Regions from separate parts of the Homo sapiens genome. Here all the other regions are linked to region 1. Evidence: promoter capture Hi-C in 16 types of primary human blood cells and fetal thymus (Javierre and others, 2016). All regions are on one chromosome and are shown on one strand. Each heading gives the region's core, a stretch centred on a gene start or on the middle of the fragment in contact. The rest is flanking DNA. Distances are from core to core; before and after follow the strand shown. Region 1 holds the start of ZNF516 (zinc finger protein 516). Region 2 has its middle 8.8 kb from the start of ZNF407-AS1. Region 3 overlaps ZNF407 (zinc finger protein 407). Region 4 overlaps ZNF407 (zinc finger protein 407).

What was found. Contacts are between HindIII fragments. The CHiCAGO score rates a contact against its expected background, and 5 or more counts as called.
Region 2: a fragment that was not itself captured here is called in contact with the fragment with the promoter of ZNF516 in region 1 in 4 of 17 cell types (M1 macrophages, monocytes, M0 macrophages and 1 more); the score reaches 12.6 in M1 macrophages.
Region 3: a fragment that was not itself captured here is called in contact with the fragment with the promoter of ZNF516 in region 1 in 1 of 17 cell types (fetal thymus); the score reaches 5.6 in fetal thymus.
Region 4: a fragment that was not itself captured here is called in contact with the fragment with the promoter of ZNF516 in region 1 in 1 of 17 cell types (M0 macrophages); the score reaches 5.3 in M0 macrophages.

The regions. Positions count from the first base shown.
Region 1 is chr18:76,493,130-76,496,795 of GRCh38, forward strand. ZNF516 (zinc finger protein 516) reads right to left here and starts at 2,113. Exons shown (of 7, transcript NM_014643.4): 1 at 2,015-2,113. ZNF516-DT (ZNF516 divergent transcript) reads left to right here and starts at 2,210. Exons shown (of 2, transcript NR_164145.1): 1 at 2,210-2,657; 2 at 3,150-3,666. It overlaps ZNF516-AS1 (ZNF516 antisense RNA 1), which reads left to right. Exons shown (of 2, transcript NR_136504.1): 2 at 1-789. RefSeq lists an enhancer at 1-44 and silencers at 1,143-1,232, 1,933-2,032, 2,163-2,222. The HindIII fragment of the contact is 7,170 bases long and covers 898-3,666 here.
Region 2 is chr18:74,587,229-74,590,894 of GRCh38, forward strand. No RefSeq gene overlaps it. Among named protein-coding and RNA genes, the nearest start is that of ZNF407-AS1, 8.8 kb to the right of the region's middle. The HindIII fragment of the contact is 1,934 bases long and covers 888-2,821 here.
Region 3 is chr18:74,605,237-74,608,902 of GRCh38, forward strand. The region is part of intron 1 of ZNF407 (zinc finger protein 407); the gene reads left to right. Among named protein-coding and RNA genes, the nearest start is that of ZNF407, 9.2 kb to the left of the region's middle. The HindIII fragment of the contact is 5,749 bases long and covers 1-3,666 here.
Region 4 is chr18:74,950,740-74,954,405 of GRCh38, forward strand. All of the region lies in intron 8 of ZNF407 (zinc finger protein 407), which reads left to right. Among named protein-coding and RNA genes, the nearest start is that of PTGR3, 260 kb to the right of the region's middle. The HindIII fragment of the contact is 3,539 bases long and covers 136-3,666 here.

The sequences.
Region 1 (3,666 bases), core at 863-3,362:
TCATTTAATGGTAAAACAACAGCAGAGCTCTGAAAGTTAGCCATCTGCGCAGAGTTTGCCTTCTTTAAGGAGGGAGGCGTCAGACGATATCCATTTAAATATATTTTGTACTTCCACAAAGGATGGAAAGGGAAATTCACGAAGGGAGTGGAGGCGGAAAGGGAGCTCCGAGAAAGAAGGAGGGGTCATTCCGCGGGGGGCGGGGGGGGGGGCGGGGGCCGACGCAGGGGAAAGAGTTGCTCTCTACACCGAAAAGGGACTTTGACCTTCCATTGATCTCGAAATTCAAAAACGTTTCTTCACAGGTCAGATTGTAACAAACACTCGTTCCTAATTTATGAACTCGCCGTTTTGATTTTATTATTTAAGCATGCGCCAGCAATCGTGTTTCCTTAAGAAAGAACTGACCTATTTTTGGCTGGAGATAAACGATCATGTTAACAGATGTTAATCTTGTAATCTGTTTTTCCTGTAAGCACTTTACCTAGCCGGGTTTCAGACCTTAAAAATAACATCTTTTCCAAAAAGACCTGACGTCACAATTCACTCCCTGAAAAATCACACTCCCCCTCCAGTTTCTTCCCCTGCAATGATTTCAAAGACATTAAATCTTTTCCACTTTATAAATGCTGATCTGTTCTGCCTCTACTCCCACAGGCTCTTATTTGCATTTCAAATTCCACAGGTTACACCAGTCGCCTTTTCAAAAAATGTAAACCAACAATGCAGCAGCAAATGGCTTTTTGTGCATCTGGATTAAATAAAGCACAGAATGAATATATTTAAAAAGAGGGCTGCGCAAGTTGATCTTTGCACACCCGGAGACCCGGTGACTCTTTATCAGCGGAATGAGTAAGACACACACACAGCCCCCAGAGCTCCCGGTCTGCTGCGGGAAGCTTATTAACGCTGATAATAGATGAGGCTGACTTACAGACCCACATTTTTCGGGTAAAAGGCTGGTTCCCTCTGGTCCCTAATTGCGGGGGTCCACTGGCTTTCCTCACCACACACATAAACTGCTGCTTTTAAATACCCCACTCGGCTGCCATTTAACAAACTTATTCATACAAAGTTTCGTTAAAACTTGAGGCGGTTTAATCTAAATACTGATCGTAACTATTCAGTCTGTTAGTTCTCCCTGGAAATGGCAGCGGAGGCGCCTCCCCCCACCTCCCGCCCAACCACACACACCCCACCGCATTCTTCCTTCATACACCCGGGTTCATCTCGCCACCGAGGCCTCCCCCACCCGCACCCGGCGGGGCGCAGCTCCGAGGAGTCCCTGCCCACCCCTCTCCGAGTCGGTGCCAGACCCTCGCCCCCACCCCCACCCCCGCCCGAACTTCCCTTCCAGGACCTCTCACTTCTTTAACGTTAGGGTCACTTAGAAGCTCCCAGCAGACTGGCAAGCAGCCGGGGAGGGGGCCGTAAAAAACAAGGCCACCCCCACCTCCACGCAAACACGTCCCCTAGGCAGCAGCGCGCGGTGCCCACAGGCATCGATCCCATCCGCCAAACCCTTAATAATTGAAGCGGCTCCTCGGGCCCGCAGCCCCATCACCCACCTTCATTAGCCGGAGCGTTTTACTTTAAAGTAAGGCAATTTGCTCTTTGTCTCCTAATGGATGGAGAGCGCATCCGAGCTCCCCTCCTCCCGCGTCGCCTTTGACAAAGTGTACAAAGCCAGAGCCTCTTCCGCGCTCCCACCCCGGCCCCCACCCCGCCCCTCCACTGCGGTAAAAACCACCTCCCGGGCGCTCGCCCCGCCGCCCGAAGTTGCATCTTCCCCTATCCTGGAATTGACGAGCAGAGCAACTACCCACCGGGAAAGCCAAGTAGCCCTCCCCGCGCCCGGGGGGCCCCTCCCCGGCGCACCCCCCTCCCCAGCGCCTCCCCCCCTACCCCCAGCGGCGCACACCAGAGTACGGGGCACGTCGGGGCTCCGGGCCCCGCGCCCACCGCCCGCCCGCGGCCCCTGCGGCGCAGCCCTCCCCCCGCCCGCGGCCCCTACCTTGGCAGGGAGGCGGCGGGCCTGGGGAGGAGGACGCGCACGCCCCGCGCATCTGAAGGTGAAGCCGAGCGCCCGCGGCGCGGAGCCGAGCGCTGCACTAGACCGACCGCGCCAGCTGCGCCCGGGCGCGGGGGACGCGCGAGGGCGCGCGGGGCCCGCCACGCGCCCGGCCCCCTCCTCGCGCCGCCCGCGCGCGCCCCGGACGCGTCCGCCCCGCGGGGGCCCCGGCGCGAGCCGGGCTCGGGGGGCTGCGCGGCACGGGGAGGGGGCCGGGCGCTCACGGCCCGGCGCAGGCCGGAGGCTTCCCCCAGCCTGGAAATGGTCTGCCCTGTAGGAAACGCACACTCCACTATTGTCTCATCAGCACAAAGTTCTGCCACACTGAGGGGACAGTCTGGAGGCTTGCAGTGACTCAGACACAGCCAATTCCTCCCCTAATAGCACTGAATCACGGTTCCAGCGGCCAGTGGTCGCCCCTCGTCAAGGTCTAAGGCTGCTGCAGCCCCGGCTCCCGGAGGCCGTTTCCGCGCGCACACGCGCATCCATACGTACAGACGTGCTCGGGATGCGGGTCCCGCCGGCGGGTACCTGGGCACTGCGCCCCATCTGGACTGAAATGGGGACACCCCTTCGGGGGTCCCAGGTGCGTGTGCATTACACACGGCGTAGCGTGTGCGTGTCACTCAACTTCCTGGTAAATGCCTCTGGGGGTGTTCAGATGCAGGATCAATACATTAAGTCCTGAATCAAGGGTCACAGAGGTCCCGCTGGAAAGACTTCAAACAGCGGCTCTGCCACCCGGCCATTTAAAAATGAAGGGGTTGTTTACCGGTAGCCTCGAAAGTTCAACTCTTATTTTTCTGTTCTTAAAACTTCATTTCTTCACCTCACCTACTCCCCACGAGCAGTAGTTAGTTGTAATAAGTTGAGTCTGGGACTAGAAATCCTAATTTGACTCCAAAACGCTCTCCTGTTACAGGGCAGGGATGGCCGGGGTGGGGGAGGGGAGGGCGGGCGCGCGGGGGCGGGGGAGGGGCGGGTCGGAGCTAGCGAGGGCGAGCGCCCCTTCACGGCCGGTGACGTAGACCCGGGGAGCTGCGGCCTGCGGAGGGGTAACACTATCTTCTCCCACCAGGCTCCTGGCCGTATTGTTCTCCTTCTCCTCGTGATAACTCCGCAGTGGAGGTGGATTCCGTCCAAGACGCCCAACGTGGCTCCGCGTAGCAATCAGCGCTGCAATCCTGGCGGTTACCTCAGCGGCGGCGTCTCTCTCTGCGCCTCACACTCGCAGCCCGCGGCCCTCCCCAACTTAGGGCGTTTACAAAAGAAACTACTCCAGACGCGCTGCAAAGGGAGGCGCATGTGCCCGAAAGCTGGCGATCAGACGGGGGGGGCATTCTGCATGTGTGATGTTTCTGGGGGCGGTGGGGAGTGTGTGTCGGGGTCGGGGGGCGGGGGGGAGTCAGGCAGAAAGACAGGGACAACCTCCGCTATGAAGGATCCGCGAGTCCTCAAATGTAAGCTCCGTGTGACTAACGACCTGCACTGATTTGGAGAGCGGGCATGTTAAAGGTCACGGACAATTGTTGCTGGCTTCAGCATGAATGCCTAAGTGGGATGTATTCTTCAGCAATCACGTTTAAGTCTGATTC
Region 2 (3,666 bases), core at 605-3,104, 1.9 Mb before region 1:
CCAGACAGTGCGAGAGCCCTGGTCAGTGACACTGTTCCTTTGCACTTGCTGCTGGGAGAAGGGAGTGAGCGAGGGCTCCCCCGAGGGCTTGCTCCCGGACACTTCTCACTGTTCACACTCATGCTGGGAACTCCGTGGCCTTTGTACTCGCCAGATGCCCATGACTCCCAACCCAGCCCCCTCTTCCGAGAATCAGGCCCACCCATCTTCCTGCCCATTTCACATCTGAAACTCTACTCACCTAGTATGAAAACTTCCATCCATTCCTCGAGACTGTTACCCCTCTGGTGCTCCCTACCTTGGTAAGTGGACCATCGGCTAGTTGATAGCAGAGCCCTGCATCGTCTTCCACACTTCCCTCTCTTTCCAATGCAATTCAATATCAGGGCCAGTCCAGCCCGTTTCTCAAAAGCCACCACTTCCTTCTAGTTCCACTGTCACCTCGCATAGCTCATAAGCCAACACTCTTCAGTTTTGCTGGGTTATTGCAGAGGCCCCTAACCAGCCACTGCTTACACGACAGCCCCTCTCACTGTACATGCCATGCGGCAACTGGCTTGTCCCTCTCACCCTGCTTAAAGCTCTCAACTGGCGACATGGTCTGAGGATGAAGTCAGACATCCCAAGAAGGTCTACAAGTCCTGCTCAACCTGCTCTCTGCTTACTCTTCTGGCTTGCTCTGCCCTCACTAGATACACCCTGACAACCCCATCCTTCAAATCCTCCCAGTTTCGCAAACATCCAAGAGCTTCCCTGCCTCAGAGCCTTCTCAGAGTCTCTCCCTCCTCCAGCAACACCCTTACAACCCCCTTGGTGTCACTAATACCCCTCCCACCCACCCTCCACATTATTCTTCAAATCTCAGCTTAGTCGTAATTTTTCAGGGAAGCTTTTTCTTATTCCTCATGAGTAAGTGAGGTGTCCCTATTATGCTACCATAGTCTCCATAGTTCCTTTGTCGCATTTATTATCATTGCCATTAAATACTTAGTCAAGTACCACATACTGACAATTTGGCCAACAACAAACATATATGACAGTGGTCCCATAAGATTACAATACCATATTATTACTGTACCTTTTTCTATGTTTACCTACATAGATACTTACTACTGTGTTGCAACTGCCTACAGTATTCAGTACAGTAACACACTGCACAGGTTTATAGCCTAGGAACAATAGGCCACACCATGCTGCCTAGGCGTGTAGTAGGCTATGCCATCTAGGCTTGTGTGGGTACACTCTAGGGTGGCTGAAGATGTCCAGACACGCATTTCTCAGTATCCCTGTTAAGTGATGCATGATTGTATTTCTACAATTTGAAAACTGCCAGCTCTCCTGCTAGACTGTAACATCTTTACAGGCAGAGATTGTCTGTTTTGTCTATCCTGATGTCTTGAAGGTTCCAGGCATACTGTATGTCATTAGGAAACATTTAAGTGCTGAAATGAATGATTTCAACATTTGTATCATCCATTCTCATGCTGCAATGCACACTCATGATTTCTGTGCATCTCTCTCCCTCCTATTAAACTTCACGCTGTATAATATTAGCGACCATATCCTACTAATCTCTGTACTTCAGGCATCCAGTGGGGTGTTGCTACACACATTAGATAATCAGTATGATTGCTAAAATCTTCCTCTTGACTTTGCAGCAGCGATTTTGGGGGTCTTCCCTACCAGGTGTGCTATACCCTTCCTGGACTTCTCTCATCTTTATACTCTCCACTTCACCTTGTTCCTAGTTTGAAACCTTCTTGGGAGCAGCTAGTACTGGGGAGAAGCACAGAAAACAAGCCATGCAGAGGTGTCAATGGCTAATAACTGTTCGATGTGTTAGGCTTCCCAGCAGTGCTTGTATCTTACCAGGGGCCACACCTTCATTCAGAGGCCACAAACTGGAAGCCCGGGAGCCCTGCACTGGCTCCCTCACCCCCGCTGATGTGGCTTTCACGGTGTCCTAAGCACTTTTGAATGGGAAGCTGACATTGCAAAACTGGAAGATTTCACTTTCACACACACACACACGATTCCTCTTGAGCAATCAGAAGACAGAGTGAGATGACACTGCTCTGCCATTCCTGCAGGTGATGAGAAGCTAAGCTGAGGAGAGCACGAAGCCCAGCATCTGACCATTTAGACATGCTCAACAAAGTTCTTAGAAGAAGCAGAGGAAGGAGAAAGCTCACAAAAGAAAACAAATGCTATTTTATCTGACTTCTCACTTCTACGGATAGTTGTTTTCACTTAAAAACAAATCCCCAAACTGTTTCATGATAGGGCCAAGTGACTTTTAAACACAATCTAGTTTAGTAGATAGTATACTATACTATTTTAAGGGCCAGGCGTGGTGGATCCTGCCTGTAATCCTAGCACTTCGGGAGGCAGAGGCAGGAGGATCCCAGGAGTTTTGAGACCAGCCTGGGCAACATGGGGAGATCCTGTCTCTTAAAAAAAAAAAAAGTGTACTATACTATTTTAAATGTCTACTTTTAAATGAATTCAGTGTTATCTGTTATTTTTAATGTTATTTTTCAGATCAAGTTTGAATATTAATTGTACATGTAATGGCTAAAAAATTAAATCATGATTTGAGATCTTGATTATACAAAACACTTGTTTCTATCTTAATGTACGATGGTTAGACCTAGCATAACTATGTTAACGATCTGTAATACTACTGCCTTTCATAACGAAGAAAAACTTAAACCAAGTCCTAACATTAGCACATATTCCTTCTGCTCTTCCACTGACCAACTATGTAACATCTACATTCTGTATTGCAGAGCACTTATCTTCCTCTTTACCATGTTGAGAAAGCTTTCTTCTTTAGGAAGTAAGTTCTTGTAAGGCAGAGGTTGGGTTGGATATGTTCTATACTTTGCTCAGCTCCCCAAAGCCCTAATCAATTGATAAAATACAAAGACAAGAATGCAGGAGATTTTCTGAAGCAACAAAATGATGCATTCTTTTTAATTCCTAGCATGATGTAGAAGAGAAGTGATGGCAGGTGTAATAATTTCTTTTCTTTTTCTTTCTTTCTTTCTTTTTTTTTTTTTGAGATGGAATTTCACTCTTGTTGCCCAGGCTGGAGTGCAATGGCGTGATCTCGGTTCACTTCAGCCTCCGCCTCCCAGGTTCAAGCAATTCTCCTGGCTCAGCCTCCCAAGTAGCTGGGATTACAGGCGCCTGCCACCACACCCAGCTAATTTTTTTGTATTTTTAGTAGAGATGGGGTTTTACCATGTTGGCCAGGCTGGTTTCGAACTCCTGACCTCAAGTGGAGGTCACCCATCTCAGCCTCCCAAAGTGCTGGAATTACAGGCTTGAGCTACCATGCCTGGCAAGTATAATTTCTTAACAGTTATGATAAGTAAACGCTTTGGAGCTATTTTAGTTTGGATAGAATTGAAAAAAATGTCATTATGTGGACAAATTTTATTTAAAAACATTATTCTAGTGTAATTCCTTAGGCAGAATGAAAAAAGATGTCAGATAAATTATGCCTTTGACTATAACAGAAAATCTGAAGCTTTAAATCATCTCACCTCCCACACTGAAATTCACCAAAACAGCATTCGAGAAGAACTTAGATTTAAAATTCTAGTGTGGGTGGTTAAGTGTTCATAGCATATTCTTATTGCCATTGTAAGTAGGCATTTG
Region 3 (3,666 bases), core at 711-3,210, 1.9 Mb before region 1:
GTCTCCAGTCCATTTCCTAATCTTATAAGGACTGGGAAGCATGGGCCTTGCATCTGCTGTCTGCAGCTCCTAGCTGTGTGACTTCAGGTAAGTCTCTTCATCTCTCTGAGCCTCAGTAACTTCACTATGAAATGCGTATTATCTTGTAGCTTTTGTGTGAGTGCTAATTGGTGGAATGTGGATAAGTCTTCATCCAGGAGCTGACAAAGCCAGCCCTCACTCTGTTATAGCTGTTATCCAGCAGTGGTCAGAACAGTACTGCCCATGCCATGAATTAAGCACATAGCATAATACGGAGTTTGAAAAAAATAAAAAATTAAAAAATCAAAAAATCATAGGAAGTTTGTTTCCTCATACATAGCAGTTAAGGTTTTCTGTCCAGCACAGCAGTTGTTACCCTGAATCGTCAAGAAAATATGAAATTATATTCTATATACATGTTAAGAAAGTAGGGAATTATATAACTTTTTATAGGATTTCTATGAAAACCACATTTTTTTAAACTTAAAAAATTAACTTTATTATGAACCCAGTAAGATATAATTGTGGGACACACATTGGTATACTAGAAAGGTACGTCATTAACTAGCCAAACCAGCAAAAACCCAGCCCACGTCTGTGTGTGTTAGTGTTGGACTAGTGTGACAAGCAAGGAGATTCTAGTTCCTGGACCGTCGGTGGAGACTGCGGTCCTTGGGTTCTTCATCAGAGCTTTTCCTGACTTCCTAAGCCCGATGAAATTACCTGCAGAATAATATGTTTCTGTGAACTTTTGGAGAGGAAAGAGGCCATGGTTTCACGCCAAAGCGCCCTAACCCTTCAGATTGTCAGGGATCACTAGCGGCGGGCCTGGGCCTGGGCTTGATGTGGACATGAAGAGCTTTTCCAGAAAATAAATGAGAGCAGTTTAAGGAAACAGGTGAAAAACTTCTGGGAGATCATTTTTGTATTTAATAGCTACATGGTGATCTTAAAAATAAAATTTGGAAATCTGCTATGTGAAAAAAATGCAGCAATTGATTTGTAATGAGTTTCAGGTTGAAGCTCATCATGTGTGTAATGCTGAATTCTATCTGGAAAGGTGCTTTTTAGAACTATTATGAAGAAAATCTGGAAAGAACCAGTTTCTTATGACATAATGGAGATACCTACATTTATATATTTTTCAAAAAATATATTTTAAATATATTTTGAGTAGATACGGGGTCTTGCCCAGGCTGATCTCGAGCTCCTGGACTCAAGCAATGTCTCCTGCCTCAGCCTCCCAAAGTGCTGGGATTATAGGTGTGAGCCACTGCACCCAGCCTAGATCTAAACATGTAAAAATTCTTTGATTTTCATACTTGTTTTATTTCTTGTGATGTCATCACACATATTCTTTATGTGACGACACAGAGCACAGTCCTGAACTGTGGTGGAGTTTATTATGTCGGCACACCTGAGGAGACATTTGAGTGTCAGTTTTCTTGGAATTTTTGGAATTATTTCAAAGTAGACTTGATATAGAATTAAATAGGAGAAATGGTTAAATTAGAGTTTAGATGGCGTTAGCTAAAGCAAAGTAAATGCAATTTTATTTAAAATAGAAGAAATAATTTTAGATATATCCGGTGTAATTCAGAGACTAGTTGATGAGGAAATTTTACTTATTTCACTTTGATGAAAGAGAGAAACATCTGGTGAAATACTAGGGGTGGTCTTTTCACTTTCAGGCCTTAGAGGAATGACTGCTACCGTAGGGTTATCACCTTTTAGAGGGAATGAGGATTGTGGCAACCCTATTCCGACTCCTCATCGTCTACTAGGAAAGCTGTGCCCTACAGGAGGCAGGTGTTTCGTCAGTCTCAGAGATTAGTTGTAGAACAAGGATTAGAAGCAGGCCTCTTGATTCATGGCTGGTCTTTTTGCTCCTCCATTGGTGGTTCTCAATCCTAATGTGTATCGGAGTCACCCAGAGGGTTTGGGCATCAACCAGAAACTGGCTCAGCAGGCCAGGGCTGGGGCTCAAGAATCTGCATTTCTCACAGGTTCCCGGGGTGACTTTGCAGCTGCCAGTCCTGAGACCACACTTCTGTAGCCTCAGCATCACCTGATGTGGCGTTGATCTCTCAGGCCGCTTGTAAGAGGAGATTAAGTAAACCTTCCCAGGTTTATACCAGACTAACCTTTTCCCTAGTACTCGGATAATCTAGTTCTTTAATTTTATGTTAGAAAAAAGAAATGCACATAGTGATTAGATGGGGGAAAAAAAAAAAGAAATGGAGTATTTCTCACAGAGTCACTGTGGCATTTTCAGTCGTAAATTTGGAGCTAATTCTGTTTGTCACGACCACTGGCCATTGACGGGGCTGGGTTTGTGCTGTGAGGCCCAGTCTTAGCAACGTTTTCTGTGAAAGGGTGTCCAGATTGATTGCTAGAGTGTATAGGAGTGAAAAATTAGTTCTGGTTTTGTGACTCTGTACTTTTCTTTGTTATTTTGTGTACTTAAATAATCCCTTCTTATATATAAAAATCTCATCAGGCCCTAGCACACTTACATGCACATAGTAGATGACAAATAAATGAGTTGAAATGGATTAAAAGAGTAAGGGGGAAATAACATAGGTCATTTATCTGGAAAGACTTCAGTGCCCTGGAGAGTTACTCTGTTCTCTAGAGTATCCCAATCACAGGCTCTTCCTGAACAATTGTAATTTATTTATTCCAGCTTAATCCTTATTTGTAGTTATTGAACATTTTTAGCACAGAAGTTAGAGATAGCATATTTTTATGTTAGAGTCAATAATCCCTCCCTTTTGTCTTTTTATCTTTCATCTGAAATGACTTTTTAAAACTTTCTACTTTGAAATAATTTTAGAAAAAAGAATTGCAAAAATAGTCTAGAAAGTTCCTATGTATATACCTTTTGGCCAGCATCTCCTGTTGTTCTCATGTATCCATAATACAATCATTGAAACCAGGCAATTGGTAACAATTAATCTAAAACATTTATTTGAATTTAACCAATGGTTCCATTGATATCCTTTTTTTCTGGTCCAGGATCCAACCCAGTATCCCACATTGTATTTTGTTATGTCTCCTTGGTCTCTCCAGTCTGTGATAGTGTTCTTTTAGATTTCTTTTTTTTTTGGAAACAGAGTCTTGCTCTGTCACTCAGGCTGGAGTGCAGTGGCTCATCTCGGCTCACTGCAGTTTCCGCCTCCTGGTTCAAGCGATTCTTCTGCCTCGGCCTCCTGAGTTGCTGGGATTACAGGAGTGCACCACCACATCCGGCTAATTTTTGTGTTTTTGGTAGATACGTGGTTTCTCCATGTTGGCCAGGCGGGTCTTGAACTCCTAACCTCAAGTGATCCGCCTGCCTTGGCCTCTCAAAGTGCTGGGATTACAGGTGTAAGCCACCGCGCCTGGCCAGTTCCTTTAGATTGCTTTGTCTTTCATGACTTTGATACTTTTGAAGAATACTGGCCAGTTATTTTGTAGAATGTCCCTCAGTTTGGATTTGTCTGATGCTCTTTCTTGTTAAATTGAGGTTTAGGCATTTTTGGTGGGAATACTAGCACAGGGGTGAAATCATGTCCTTCTCAGTGCATCATATGAGGAGGTATGTGATATAGATATGTCTTCTTCTGGTGAACGTGAACTTTGATCTCTTGGTTGAGGTGATGA
Region 4 (3,666 bases), core at 655-3,154, 1.5 Mb before region 1:
TCTCTAAACCCAGGGAGGTCTCCCATTTTCTTGCTAATGGGAATACTCCCAACACACATGCTTCATGCTCTCTCACCTGACTCTCCAGGGTTTTCATACTTTTAACAGGATATGGTTTTTAATGAGGCTTCTAGAAGCTTTAGAAACTTCTTTAATGATTTTGTTTTGACCTTTTGCTACTGCCTTTACTGGGACCGAATTGATTGTCTCAACTGAAAATTTGCTGCCAAAATTTGGATTTTAATATTTTCAGATGCAACTTTTTTTTTCCTTTTGTTGATTCTGGAATGGGCACATATTAAATATTACAATGAAGAATAATAGTCTTAGTTCCCTTCATGTGGTAGCAGGGCAGCACACAAGAGTCTAAATAACTTCTCTATTATGACCACTACTACTGTGATACCCCCAGTGCCTCCAAATGTTCAAATGTACTGAACTTTTCTTTTTTCTCTATGATACAGACATTTTAAATAGACGTAAGCAGAACATGTTCACTGCACCAATTACTTGTAAACAGTGGAAATCCCCACAAGGCAATGAGAAGGGAAGGCAGGAGTAACAAAGGCTTGCCCTTGGTGTGGGGCCAAGCCCTTCACTTTCTCTCCTCCCTGTTCTTGGTTTCTTGACTCATTAAGTCAACATTGTCCCTCTGTTGATTTGCCTAAACTGTTTTGCACAGAGATCTTGTAGAAAATTGGCAAACTGCAGAACACTGAGCGTGAGTTCTCAGTACGTTCATGTTGACCCTTCTGCCTCTCACTGCCTCGTCTTCTCATTGATTGCATGCCTTTGACACACTGCTTTGCTGCTGCTTCCTTGATCATCATCATAGCATCCCTAGATTGCTTAACTACCAGAAAATAACCTTAAACATGGCATTTTTATTTCAAAATTATTTTATTTCCTCTGTTGTTGAGCTTCATATTTGCAGATTTATTCCCTCTTTGTATGTAGGTTTTAATCTAAATCATTAACTTTGATTCATTTTCATAGTCTGTGTGTTTTTTATGGGTATTAATTTTTAGAAATAACTTACTTTCTAAATGAAAAGTAAAATAAGATAATTTCTAAGATTATGATTTTTGGAATATTTAACAGATACACCAAAGTTAATTGGAGAATAAAACCATCATACAGAACAGGATCTGACAAAAAAAAAAACAGTAATTCTAGGAAACTTCTGATCGTACTTCATAGAGCAGATGAAAACATACTAAGTTAGAAATTAGAAAATACATACAAAGTAGTGATCCCTGGCACAGCTCTATGAAGTATTGCTAGAATAACTGCAAAGGTGTTGCAAGCAGTTTTCTCAGCTTCTGTCATTCAAAAGTAAGACCCCTGCCCCTTATTACTAATGAGGCATCAACAGTTATTGATCAGGAGCTTGGGAGGCAAGGAGAAGAAAATACTTGATTATTGCAAAGCAGTGACTAACTCATTAAAAATAAAAGGACTAGATAACTTAGCAGTGAATTTCCTCAAATTTATGATACTCTCTATGAACCTTTGGTAGCTAATGAGTATCTTGCAATTGGCCTGTGCTGGGCACTGTGCTCTATGCCATCCCTGATATTATCCCTTTAATCCCAACCACAGCCCCTGGTGCTGCGCTGTCATGCTCATGGAGAAGCACTTGGGCACAGGGAGTTTAGGAACTGGCCCAAGTTACCCACCTGTTTACTGCCAAATACTTGTCGAGCGCTTTCTGGGTAGCAGCCACTGTTCTAGATCCTGGAGACAGAGGCTAACCCTCAGGGAAAGATAGATGATAAGTAAATAAACTAACTACTGTGCATGGTAATGCCATGTTGGGAAAAGAGGCAGAAAGAGGAAGACAACCAGAGAGAATGGGAGCAGGAAGGGGCTGGACGATTGTGCATACAAGGTTAGGGAAAATCTCTCTTAAGAATAAGACTTTTAAAAAACAGTTTTATTGAGGCATAATTAACATAAAATAAATTGCACATATTTAAAGTGTACAGTGTGATGTGTTTTGACAGAAGTATAAACCCTTGAAACCATGGCCATAATTAAAATAATGAACACATCCCATTTCTCCCAGAAGTTGTGAGGAAATGGCAGATATCTGAATGAAGGGAAGGCCAGGGCCGTGAAAATGTGTTGGGAAGAGCACTGCCTGGAATGGTTGACGGAACACGAGGCCAACATGGACTTGGCAGAGCCGTTGGTGATGGAGCAGTGGGAGTGGAATGGAATATGGTCATTTGGGCTTGGAGTGAAGAGAGAAGTAAGGTAGACCACACAGGGCATGTAGAGATGTTTCTTCTGACTCTGACGGAAAGCCATAGAATGACGGTGAGCAAGAGAGGAGCCTACGTTGATTTGTTTTTTGCAAAAAGTCACTCTGGCTTCTAGGTGGAGAAAGGACTGCGTGGAAATGAGACGTCTTGGCAAGAGAGAGTGATCACTTGAATGAGGGTAGTGGAGGTGATGAAAATGGTTGGATTCAGGATGTCCTTGTCAAGGGGACATTGCTTGAGAGCTGGGGTCCGTCCAGGCTATCTGACTCCTCAGCCTGTGCTCTCGTCAGCTTGGCATGCCGCCTTCTGTGGTGGATAAAGACCATCAGTGCTGCAGGAGCAGCAACCAACGCCTTAATGTGTAGATTTTGTTATCTGTTTTTTTCTACTTTAATTTGGTGGCTTTGTACATCTGCCGTGTATGTCTGCTTACGTTGTATCATGGCCATCTTTTCTCTGCAGGCATCCTTAGTCGCCTTAACTTGGATTTTTTTAAACTTCCAGATTGCTAATTTCCCTTGTATTACATTTCATTCCTGATAGACATGCAGCTTCCTTGAGGAGGAGCTCCCTGCCTCTGTGTCCTGCCCCACACTCCGTAACGCTAGGCTTCGTTTAGAGAGGAGCTTTTCAACTCTTGTTAGATGTCCTAAATTGTACTTAATTGAAAATATGTAAATATAGTTGCATATAGAAATATAGAGGATTTGTTTCACTTCTCCTGACAATATGACCACAGCGTATACCACTACCTTTTACCAGCTGGCTGCAGACAGCCCCTTACTCCGATGTCATTGTGTAGACGGGAAATTTGTTTTTGATAGGCTTCACCACACCAGCAGGAATCTGGTCCATTAGGGAACTGTGGCTGGGCTGCTTTATTCTGGGAGAAAAGTTGAGACCCTAATGGGAGGCGAGAAAAAACAAAAGATAGGCTCAAAGTAAGGAGAAAAAGGGATAGTGTATGTTTTGTGTGTGTGCATGTGCGTGCACGTGGACACACACTTTTACATACCCACATAAATGTATTTTACACATATTTTAGTCATTGTGGTACCTCAATTGACTTAATTTCTATTGACTTTTCCAATATTAATATGTTCAATATTTTATAACAAAATTTAATGCTTTCTAAAGGGAAAGAGGCCAGTTTCAATATTAATGCCAATTAGAAAAGCATTTTTTGATCATTTGGCTCACTTAAGATAATCTCAAAAACCAACTTACCCAGAAACAGTTACTTGGGAGAAACAGACAAAATGTTACTTCTGAGTAATTATTTTCAAAATAGATACTTGTGTTACTGTGATCTCTTTGTATACTATTGTTAATATATATCTTTAATCTATATCATAAATGACTATGATTAAATAGCTATATGATTATGTCAATACAGATA